Regions from separate parts of the Homo sapiens genome. Here region 2 is linked to region 1. The links are contacts of gene promoters, found by promoter capture Hi-C in blood cells and fetal thymus (Javierre and others, 2016). All regions are on one chromosome and are shown on one strand. The core of a region is centred on a gene start or on the middle of the fragment in contact, and the rest is flanking DNA. Distances in the headings are between cores, read along the strand shown.

What was found. Contacts are between HindIII fragments. The CHiCAGO score rates a contact against its expected background, and 5 or more counts as called.
Region 2: a contact is called between a fragment that was not itself captured here and the fragment with the promoter of LCA5 in region 1, in 4 of 17 cell types (monocytes, M1 macrophages, M0 macrophages and 1 more). The highest score is 8.7, in monocytes.

What each region holds. Positions count from the first base shown.
Region 1 is chr6:79,533,424-79,538,904 of GRCh38, forward strand. It overlaps LCA5 (lebercilin LCA5), which reads right to left and starts at 4,007. Exons shown (of 8, transcript NM_001122769.3): 1 at 3,742-4,007. It also overlaps a transcript of SH3BGRL2 not described here. RefSeq lists enhancers at 3,903-4,476, 4,471-4,520, 5,051-5,481. The HindIII fragment of the contact is 3,782 bases long and covers 1,184-4,965 here.
Region 2 is chr6:78,909,018-78,914,637 of GRCh38, forward strand. It overlaps a transcript of IRAK1BP1 not described here. Among named protein-coding and RNA genes, the nearest start is that of IRAK1BP1, 44 kb to the left of the region's middle. The HindIII fragment of the contact is 2,596 bases long and covers 359-2,954 here.

The DNA of each region.
Region 1 (5,481 bases), core at 2,757-5,256:
GATAAAAGCAAAAAAGGAAAATTATAAGCCTTGTGCACAATTTCAATTCCTAAAGAACTGTTTATTTCCTAAAGCTGGCTAAACATGCTACTACAGCAATTAATAGGAAGCTACCAAATCTAATACTTGACATTGTTCATCCAAAAGTAAACTCTCCTTTAAAAAAAAAAAAGTAAAAAGTCCCAAACAGTAAAAATTACACATAACAGGTCAAAAAAAAAAAGAAGATAACCTAAAGATCCTCGAGTGCCAGAAGTTTCTTTTATCTCTGATTACAAATGAATCAGAAAACAAATCTAAGCTGTAGAGTCCATTGTATATAAATATCATAATGATATCTAATTCGTCTGACTCTAAGAAACCATCTTAGTTTTAAGAAAAAAAACTGTAAAATCAACAAACCGTTAATTTCCTGACATATCCCTGTGCTCAGCTTCTTTAGATAAAACATTGCTGACTGGCTACCTTTGCTACCAGCAAAAGAGTTCACAAAACAGACAACTAGGCAAATAAAATGTAAATAAACTTCAGTGAGAAAGATATAAATAAGGACATTTCTCCTCCCCGCAAAAAAGATGAGATAAAAGTAAAAACCATATTGCTACATTTGGTTTTTCTCCTTTGTGGAAGAGGAGCAGTTACACTGTAACTGCTCCTCTTCCACAAAGGAGAAATGAAGTAAAGTGTTCCACTTCTTCTAATAACATGTCCCCACGTATTTATAAGCATTTTCCTTATTATACTACTTATCTACATAATCTTGCTTAAAAATCAAACTATTTTTATTTAAAAATAAAACAAAAAATAAAGTTTGGATTTAAAGTATGATCAAATATGATCAATCAGATCACAGTAAATGCTACATTTGAAATGTAAGACATAATCAGCTTATTTTAAACATTTTAAACAATGGATCAAATTAAAACATCTTAAGTACAGTACATATTCCCAAAGTTTAGTCAGTCAAATGAAAACATCCTAAGATGTTCATTCATTCATTTATTCATTTATAAGACATTTACTGAACACCTATGAAATGTCAGGCGCTAGATTATAGATGGAGCTGAAGATACAAAAATGAGTAAAATACAACTGATCCTTTACCGTTAAGTAATTCCCAACCAAGAGGAAAAAAAAATAATGCGACAGTCTATAAGTACTAATGATAAAAGGAAGCAGAGAAAGCTTAGTAAACTCAGAACTAAGATTAGAGGACAGAGGGAGTTTGAGAAGGTTTCTAGAGGAGATAATGCCTAAATTGAGTCTTACGGTATTAGCAGAGGTTAAGCACAATTATAATTTCATGGATGTGTGTGTTTGAAAAGTGGGGGGGTAAATGAGGTTAGAAAAAGAAGACAGTGAAGTACGACCCTGTCTCAATAAGAGGATGCAGCATTTGCAAAAGTAAAAGGCATTAGATAAGCATGGCATATCACCAAACTGCAAATACTTTACAACTGTGCTGTCCAATACAGTGGCTCCTGAGCACCTCAAATGTAGCTATTCAGAATTGGCATATGCGGCAAGTGTAAAATACATGTGGAATTTTGAAAACTTAGTACATAAAACAGACCATAAAATAGCTCTTCTATAATCTTTCTTACATTGACATATGCTAAAATAATATTCTGGATATATGTGACTTAAAAATACATTAAAATTTCACCTGTATTTTATTGTGTGTCTACTGAAAAAAATGGATATAGCTCACATTCTATTTCAAATGGACAATGCTAGTTTAAAAGGATGGCACTGGCTGGGGAGTAGTGCTAAAGTAATAATAAGTGGGACTGGATCGGGTGGAAGATAATATCACAAGAAGAATCTCTATGTCATTAATAAGTTGGTTGGAAACCAAGGCTCTTCAGTAGGGTTAATATTATCAGATCTGACATTTGCAAGGATCCATCTCCAATCTAAGAATTGGAGGGCAGGAAAGCTGGAGGAAGAATATCAATTGGTCTCGATAATCACTGACAGACAGTGTTTTGAAAGTAGTATAACTAGAGATACAGAGTACGGAACTGATTCCAGAAATGTTTTTCAAGTAAGATAAACTACACTTGGTGACAGATTAAATATGAAGTCTGAGAATAGAGAAGAACTTGAGTAAATTCCAAAGTTTTGGGCTTGCAAAATTAGGAGAATGTGGTATTCAAGCAGGACAGCTTTGGCAGGGAAAGGTGATGGGTTCAATATTGGACATACTGAGTTTGGGATGCCTATGGATAGGAAATTTATGTGGAAATACCAAAAATTAGCTACAAAAGTTTGACAGTAACTCAAAAGTTCCAGATCAGAAATAAAAAATTGGGAGAGTGTTAATAAAACACAAATAGTGTAAGCCAAAGGAGAGGAAGAACACAGCCAAGAACACAGAGTAAAAAATAGAAGACGGAAGACTGAAGACTGGATTATTGGGAAAAACAATAATGAAATATGGTGGGCCGAGGAAGAAGATCCCACAAAGGAGTTGAAGAATGACAGGCAGATGAAGAACCCAAGAGAAGGGTAGCATCTTTATTTAATGGGCTTCCATTGTGTCCTACAGAATTATAGTTCCACAATATGTGTAACGGAAGAGATGTGACTCACAAAAGAAGAAAAATCTCTTTTCCAAAGTCACAAACTACTTTTTGATATTTAAAATGATACTTTGTCAACTTAGAGAATCAAAACAAACTATTATTTCCTATAACTTATTTGGATAAACATACTAGCTAACATGGGAAATCACAAAGTGAAATATTTAAAATGGTAATATAGAATTTAAATGTGGAACAACTGGAAAAAAACATAGATTAAAATAACCATGCAAAAGAAAGAGGGAATGAGTAAAGAACTGGAAACATCGGTTTTACCATTCTAAAACACATATAGCCACTCCCTCTGCCAAAAACTAAATGATGACTTCTGATTGCAAAGATATCTCTAATGCAAGTTCTTAACGTGAAGATAAAGGAGGGGAATAAATATGTATGTGCCCAAGTATACTTTCCAAAGAACAAAGTGAACAAAAAAGGGGTTTATATCAGATGAACTGGACCAGGGCTCTTCACTGTTAAACACTATCCCACGGTCTATCTAACGTAAACATCACGTATCTGAGTACCGACTCCAACTCGAGTATGCCAAAAAGGCACTTTCTTTTTTCTTTTATTTCTAACCATCTTTACTCCTCTCATCCCATCCCTGAAGGATGTATAGAAGTATCACAGCCTGGACAAGTACGGCTTTCCACTCTAACCACAGTTTTAATAATAACACATCTATTATTATCCGAGAGCTACCAAAGCCTCCTTTTCCGTCTTGGCCCTTGGCCCTGCCCCTCCTCTCTAGTCTTGAGTCTCCACGGGCCTCCGGGGTTTTTGTTTTGTTTGTTTTAATAACAACCACTTCTCTAGATCCGCTTGCTCCCTTTCTTCTCTTCTCGGTCCCAGGAAGTAAATACCCTTTCCCAGCTCCTCTCCTCCTAACTTCCCAGTCCCCCCAGTGCCGGTCAACCTCCCTTCCTCGGGACCCTCTCAGAAGCCGAGCTCTTTACTCATTTTCCTAGGTCTTCCTTCTCCTCGCGGTCCCTACATCCTCCCCCATCCCTAATCCCTTCATCTTCCCTGCTTTAAGAACCACCCGCAGGCCCCCATCCACGAACGCCCCTTCACTAGCTACCAGACGCTTCAACCCAGCCTCACCTCGCACCTCCACCTCCCCCGCCGTCTCCACGCCCACTTCAAAGCCCACCTCCAACCCGCAGGCTCTTCAGCAGAGCCGATGCGGCGTCCCGCCTCCTTGCCTTCCCTCTTAGGACCAAACTCCCAGCTGGGGCCTCGGCGTCTGACCGCCAAAGAGCGGGTGCCTGGTTCCTGCGGAGGCTGCCGGGCGGGTGCCGAGGTTGCCGAGATGCGGGAGGTTTGAACACAAGGATGGGACAGAGGCGAGGATCGGGGCTCCTGGGTGGCAGCGGCGGTAACCTGGGCTCCAGGGTAACGGAGGCGGAGGCCTAGACTGCACTACGAAGAGACCGCAGCCAATCATGATGACTCTACCCGAGCTCCCATTGGCTTCTGTCTCCAGACGGCCCTTTTTATTGGCTTCAGTGGAACTGGAAGGCGGGACGGCGAGTGCGGGAGAAGGTCTCCATTGGCCGACCGCTCTAGCTGTAGCGGAGACCCCCAAGTAGGGAAATTGGGGCAAAACGCGGAGCGCTCCAGGCTCCTACGGGCTGTGCGGTGCCAGGGCTCGACTGCTGAGCGTCGTGGGCTCCGAGAGGGACGCGGGCGGAGGGCAAAGTGGGTTCATGATATGAATTGTAAAATTGGCGACTGCGTAATGTAAAACACTTAACAATTGCTTAGATTTCCTTTGGGAAATAACTTGCTTTTAAATTGTAAACAAATTACAAACAAACTGCTAGTGCTTCTGGATCTTCTTACCGAAATGGCTGATTCAGGAGGATGCGGGGTGAGTGCACTATTGTTCCTGCCTCGAGATCCTGGCTGTGAATCACCAACGAGCCGTGAGTTTGGCTTGAAAGTGATTTTTAGGTTTTGGAACGGGTTTGGGGTGGAATGGCATCTGAAATATTTGCACACAAGTTTTTTTTTTTTTTTTTTTTTTTTTTTTTTTTTTTTAAGGAACGTTTTGAGGAGCATGTCAGCCTATTGAGCGCTGATGTGTGACATATTTTCTCTTTTAGAAATGGCATTAATTGCGGGAGACAGGGAAGGTAAAAAAAAATCCTCTTTCGTGAGGGCTTTAAACTGCTCCGAGCCATCTGATTATCAAGGTGGTTTAACACTACTCTGGTGTTCTCACTATTGTTAATTTCTCACTGGCCTTTTTACCACCATTCTGTAGAGAATCTAATATTTGAAGGCAAATGCGTTTAATGAATCTTCTAACCATGAAGATTGGTAATTCCTGCTTCTCGCTCAACCTCGTTTTTCCACCTTTGCACTGTTTCAAAGCTTTCATTTTATCCTGTCAATACATTTTACTTCAAGTTACAGACTAACCCACCCAAACAATATTGTGATTAAATGTAATTTTCTGTATGCGAAATACATCTGTACAAGATGGCAGTCATCTGTTAGTGAAAATAAGATGAGTAATCCCTAAATTGCACGGAATTACTTTTCATCAATTCTTTAATCTGTCTCTGCTGACACTGTTAAAATAGCTCACTCGTTATTATGGACTCTGTTAGAATTAACATGTAAATGTATGGGTGGATTACTTATAAAGGAAGTTGCTAGGAAGAATCAGAAAACATACCGTATTTACGTGGACAAATGTCTGTCACAGGAGCGTCAGATCAGGATTGCTGAAGGAGAGCTGAGAATGAAACCACCATTTATTCAGCACTCAGAATGCTCCAGGCAGTGTAATCTCATTCCATCTTCATTCATGACTCCAGACAGGTATTGTTATTCATTGTTTATACTTGAGAAAGCAGATTCAGAGAAGTTAAAGTATCTACCA
Region 2 (5,620 bases), core at 407-2,906, 630 kb before region 1:
TAATAGCATGAAAGGCCAGTCTTGGGACTACAGAGAAAATATGAAGTGATAAGAGGGAAAAGTGTATACTGAGAAGGAAAACTAATGATTTAAGATGGCGAAGCAAGCAAATACAGATGATCCTAACTTACGATAGTTCAATTTATGATTTTTCAACTTTATGGTGGTGCAAAAGCCATACACATTCAGTATATACCTCCACTTATGGCAGGAATATGTCCAGACAAGCCCATTATAAGTTGAAAATATCCTAAGTCAAAAACACACTTCTGACTTAGCAATATTTTCAATTTACATTGAGTTTATCCAGACATAATCTCATGGTGAATCAAGGAGCAGTTGTATCAGATTGGCCTGAAGCTTAGCACAGCCTCCTTCTCTTTCCCTGAAATGTAAAGATTTTAACCTAGCTTCTCTCAGCAATTTTCATAAAGTACTTCAACGTTCCCCTGAATGAAAACATAATTAAAGAGACATGTATTTGTATGCTCTTTTCACTTCCTGATTCCAAGCCGAAAAGCTGGGCTATTTAAGGGCATGACAAATGCAGAATTGCACAACTCTAAATCTGAACAGCACTGCTGGGTCCCCACATTTCACTAGGAGAAGGGCCTTTAATTTGCTCCAGCAACAATAAAAAGTGGTACATAGGCTAAGATGAAGTCCAGATGCCAAGGGAACCTATGAATTACTTTAAGACACATGGGAACCAATTACAATGTGTGGAGTTTATTTGGATCTTGATTCAAACACGCTAAATCAACAAATATTTATAGCAGGAGACATTTGGAAATTTGAATACAGACCAGATGTTTGATGTTATTTCTTTTCTTTTTTTGCTCACTCTCAGCAGAATCAGTGATGTTATTTCTATATGTTGGATATTTTTCATAATTTTTTAATGGCATCTTTTCATTACAGTATTCTGTTTCCCACAAAAATACAGGAAAAGGGTGGAAGGGAAACAATGAAAAAGTTCAGGTGGGTCACAAACATGGACACAAGGAGTCTGAAAGGCAGGCCTTGACATTTGTCTGAATAATACTAACGATGACCCTTCGGAGTTTCACGGGAGAGGAGGGTTGCCAGACTGTAATGGAGAGAAACTGGACTTAGTTGCTAATTAGGATGATGGTGCAAGGTCCATGACAGGGGATGAGGGAATGCCTGCTCGGGGAGGGGAAAAGGGGACTGGACGGAGGGCACGGCAGGATGGCCTAGGGAGGACGGGCGAGGGCCTATCAGTTACAAGAGGAAGGAGAAAGAGGATACTGGTTTTCCTCTGCATAAAAAACGCGATGGATTCTCAAGAATTTATTGAAAGTCTGTGTGTCCACCATAGTCCAGGATATTTTGGAATATTCAAGGGAAATACAAATCCAAGAATTTAGCTCAGGAATCAGCATCAGAACAGAATCCCCGAAGAGTAAACTATTCATGGAAAACAGTAGACTGATAACATTTGAAAAACTGATTTCCCATAGAAACAATAGTTACTGTTTGACGAATTATACAACGTAGACCTAGGTCGTGCGATAGCTACAAAATACCTAAGGAAATGGACTAGGTCGTAACAAGAAAAAGTGATATCAAGCCCGGGCAGAAGGGCGCATTCTCGGCGCGGAGGGCGGAGCCTTTCCTGGAGTGGCGGCGGATGACCCGGGCTCCCGCTCCTCACCTCGGCGTGGGGCGCAGGCGGCGGCCGCAAGGACCGCGGATGCTTGAATCGCGCTTCTCGCCGGCTGGGACTGCCCCAGACACGCACACCCTCCCGACCTCCGCCCTGTCGCAGTTCCAGGGCGCTCCGCGCTGTCATGATTGCTGGGTGCGCGCTCCGTGCTGGGACAGCCGCGCACCAACAGCGGAGGGCGTTAGCACCCCAAGACGCTGCTGCAGGGGTCTGAACCGCTCCTTGGCCTACTGGCACCGGGTCCTGGACGAAATCTACCGCGGTCCAACTGAGCTTTATCTTGTGCGGTGACGCCCATGCCTAGGTCTTGACACTTCCCTCCTATGCCCTTTATTGCCAAGGGTCGGGATGGCCTTCGTGTCCTCTGCAGCCTCCGCCTTCCTTCTGCTGCCAGCAGCTGTAGATTTTACCTCTTTCCCCTAACTTCCTCTCAGGCTCCTACTCCATTCCTATCGCGACTGCTTGAGACCGGGCCACCTCCCCCGCAAATTACCTACTCCAGTGTCAAAATCAGGTCAGGGCAAATCCATGCCAGAACGCAGTGACCTAACTTAAATGCGACTCTGATTGCGTTCTTCCCAGCTTAGAACTTTTGGTGTCTCCTGATGGTCAAAGGGACCGAGGTCAACCTCCTCTGCCCCTTTCAAGGCACCTCAAGATCCGATCCCTTTATATTCCCCAGTCTTGATCCTTCTCTCCTGCTCCAGGGGAATGAAACACAATCCCACATCTGGGATGTTACTCATCCCCATTGCCTCACCAGTTTTTCTGGATTTTATTTTATTGTGCAAAAACATCAATAAAATGAAATTATCCAGTTTCTCTGGATGATTTACTCGCCTTTAAGTTGAAAACTGATAACATCATATCCTGCAGGACTGCCACCTCAGCTGAATTAGATGACCCTTTTGTATCTTACAGCAGCTGCATGTTTCTCTCCAATGTAGTCAAGATCACTACTGTAGCTATTTAGTTACCTATTTATCTCACTTCATTCCCAGCAATTTATTATCTGAGTACTCTGTACCGGGCACTGGGTTAAGTAGATGTTATGAATACTGTACTACCATGTGAAGTAGCTTCTGTTACCCTCGTCATTTACAAGCGAGCATATAGAGGCTAAGAGAGTTTAATCTGTCAATCTACATGGCCAGGATGCAGAGAACTCAGACAGGCACCCTTATTGTTGTTGTTGGTTTTTGTCTCTGTACCTAGTACAGTGACTGGGACATAGCAGGTGTTCACTAAGTGTGAAATATATGGAAGCTTTGTTTTGTTTTGTTTTTTGATCCTCAACACCACTCCAGAGGGCAGGCCATACAGGAATCATACTTGCCTTTTTTAGATATGCAAAGAGATCCAGAAAATTGACTTGGCAATTCATAAAGACCAGGGACATGTGACTCCTCTCATGCTTTTTTCACCATTATAGCTTTTTCTGGGACAACTTCCCAGAAGAGGATTTCCTTTTTATTTTTCCTGGAAAAGTTTGATGATAAGAGATTCGTTTTTACATCTGATCAGATTTAGACTCTCTATAGTGCCAGAATAGAGAGCAAAGAGGGACAAGAGTAGGTTCTGCTGACAAAAGAAAGTGGAAGGGGTAGCAAACCCACTTCACAACATCATTATTTTGATGTGTAGCATCAAAAAAATTGCTTGAGTTTCTGTAGCAATTGCTATATAAGTACAATAATGTATCTTGAAGTCATTCTAGGCCATCTGGAATATTATTCCTGGTGGTACCAAGCCACCAGCTGAAGAGTTTTAAGTAATAACATGATCAGAATTGGATTTGCTGTATACACACATAAATGTGTATACACACATACACACCACCACCACCACCAGCAACAGTGCAGGGAGTGAGCTGCAGTGATACAAAGGAACTACAGGAAATGTTGTCAATAACAGGTTTGTTCCTAATAGCAAAAGGTGGAAACAACCACCATGTCTACTGGCAACAGAATGGTTAGATTGTGATGTTTTCACACAATAAATATTATATAGCAATAAAAATGAATGAATTTTACCTTATGTAAAAACGTGAATAAATCTTTGAAATATTACAAATTATTATCGTATGAAGAGACAAAGAATATGCCACCAGAAATGTGGAAAAAAATATATTAGCACCCAGGCTCTTGATTTGTTAAAGAGAAATGTACTATCCATGTTTACACTTATATACAATATCTGCAATTTATTAAATTTATTACATAAATATTTGAATGTTTATAATTCATAAGGGATCTATAAGCATATATATGTGGGTGTGTATGTGTGTGTGTCATGGTCTAAAATGGACTGCAAAATCATGATTGATTCCATAAAAGTATAAGTCATGGCCGGGTGCGGTAGCTCACGCCTGTAATCCCAGCACTTTGGGAGGCCAAAGCAGGCGGATCATTAGGTCAGGAGATCGAGACCATCCTGGCTAACACGGTGAAACCCCATCTCTACTAAAAATAAAAAAAATTAGCCAGGCGTGGTGGCATGCACCTGTAGTCCCAGCTACTCGGGAGGCTGAGGCAGGAGAATCCCTTGAACCCTGGAGGCTGAAGTTGTGGTGAGCTGAGATCACACCACTGCACTCCAGCCTGGGCAACAGAGCAAGACTCTGTTTCAAAAAAAAAAAAGTACAAGTCATTACTGGGGCCGGGCGCAGTGGCTCACGCCTGTAATCCCAACATTTTGGGAGGCCGAGGCAGGTGGATCACTTGAGGTCAGGAGTTCAAAACCAGACTGGCCAATGCGGTGAAACCCCATCTGTACTAAAAATATAAAAATTAGCTGCGCATAGTGGCACACACCTGTAATCCCAGCTACTTGGGTGGCTGAGGCACAATAATCACCTGAACCCAGGAGCCAGAGGTTGCAGTGAGCCAAGATTACACACTGTACTCCAGCCTAGGTGATAGAGCGAGACTCTGTCTCAAAAAAAAAGTCATTGCTGAGAAGATGACTGCATCTTTAAAATACAGTTTAGACTAAAAAGTGATGAGAGTGAACTAATTAATGGCTATTTACAGTGAAACCTCTACTTTTTTCACTCCAGGAGTATTTCAACTATTTATATCAAAGGAATAGAAAATGGGCATTTGTTAAAATTCTTGGAAAAATACTGATATTGGGTAAAATAAAATAGTGAGCAGCAAATAGGAAGTGAACAGATGATATACTGTTATGCTTTTGACATTTGCTAGTTGCTTCTTAGTAACCACATATGACAGAATATAGAATCTATATTTGTAATCATCACAACATTATACTAAGCTAAAATGCATAAGTCATATGAAGTGTTCCAAAATATGAGGTCATATGATATGTTCCAAAATGTTACAAATTTCACTTGTAATATAGATCATTTTAACCATTCCACTAAATTAAAAGAAGCTTGCTTTAATTGATGATTAGCACATTAATAAATTAATTAACTCACTACTAGGTAATCTTAATAACTTGCAAAAGAACATTGAAAAAAAAATCTTAAAACTGGAGAAAAAGAGTGTTTGTTAACTTGCCTTTCAACTGACAAGAATTATGAAAAGGTTAACCCAAAGATTAACTTTTTAAAACATCTTGCCTGAAAATGAATCTTAATTTTGAAGATAAGCCATTATCTGAGTTTTGGTATCATAATATTCAGCACATTAAAATGATTTGTATAATACCTTCATGTTTCTAAAATAAAATGTCTTGCTGTTGCATACCAGGGTTATTGGTAGACAGACATTCAAACTATATGAGGAAAAAAGAAATGAGTGTTTCCCAAGATGCAAAGCATTACGCAGTTGTAATGTGACATTTCTGCATTATGTTCAGTGGAGCTGTTTTGTCTAAATTCCATGTCTTCTATTTTTTTGGTTGATTATCTCTTTCTTTTAAAAAATTAATTTAAGGCAATGCTCCTAAACAATTTCACTGCTT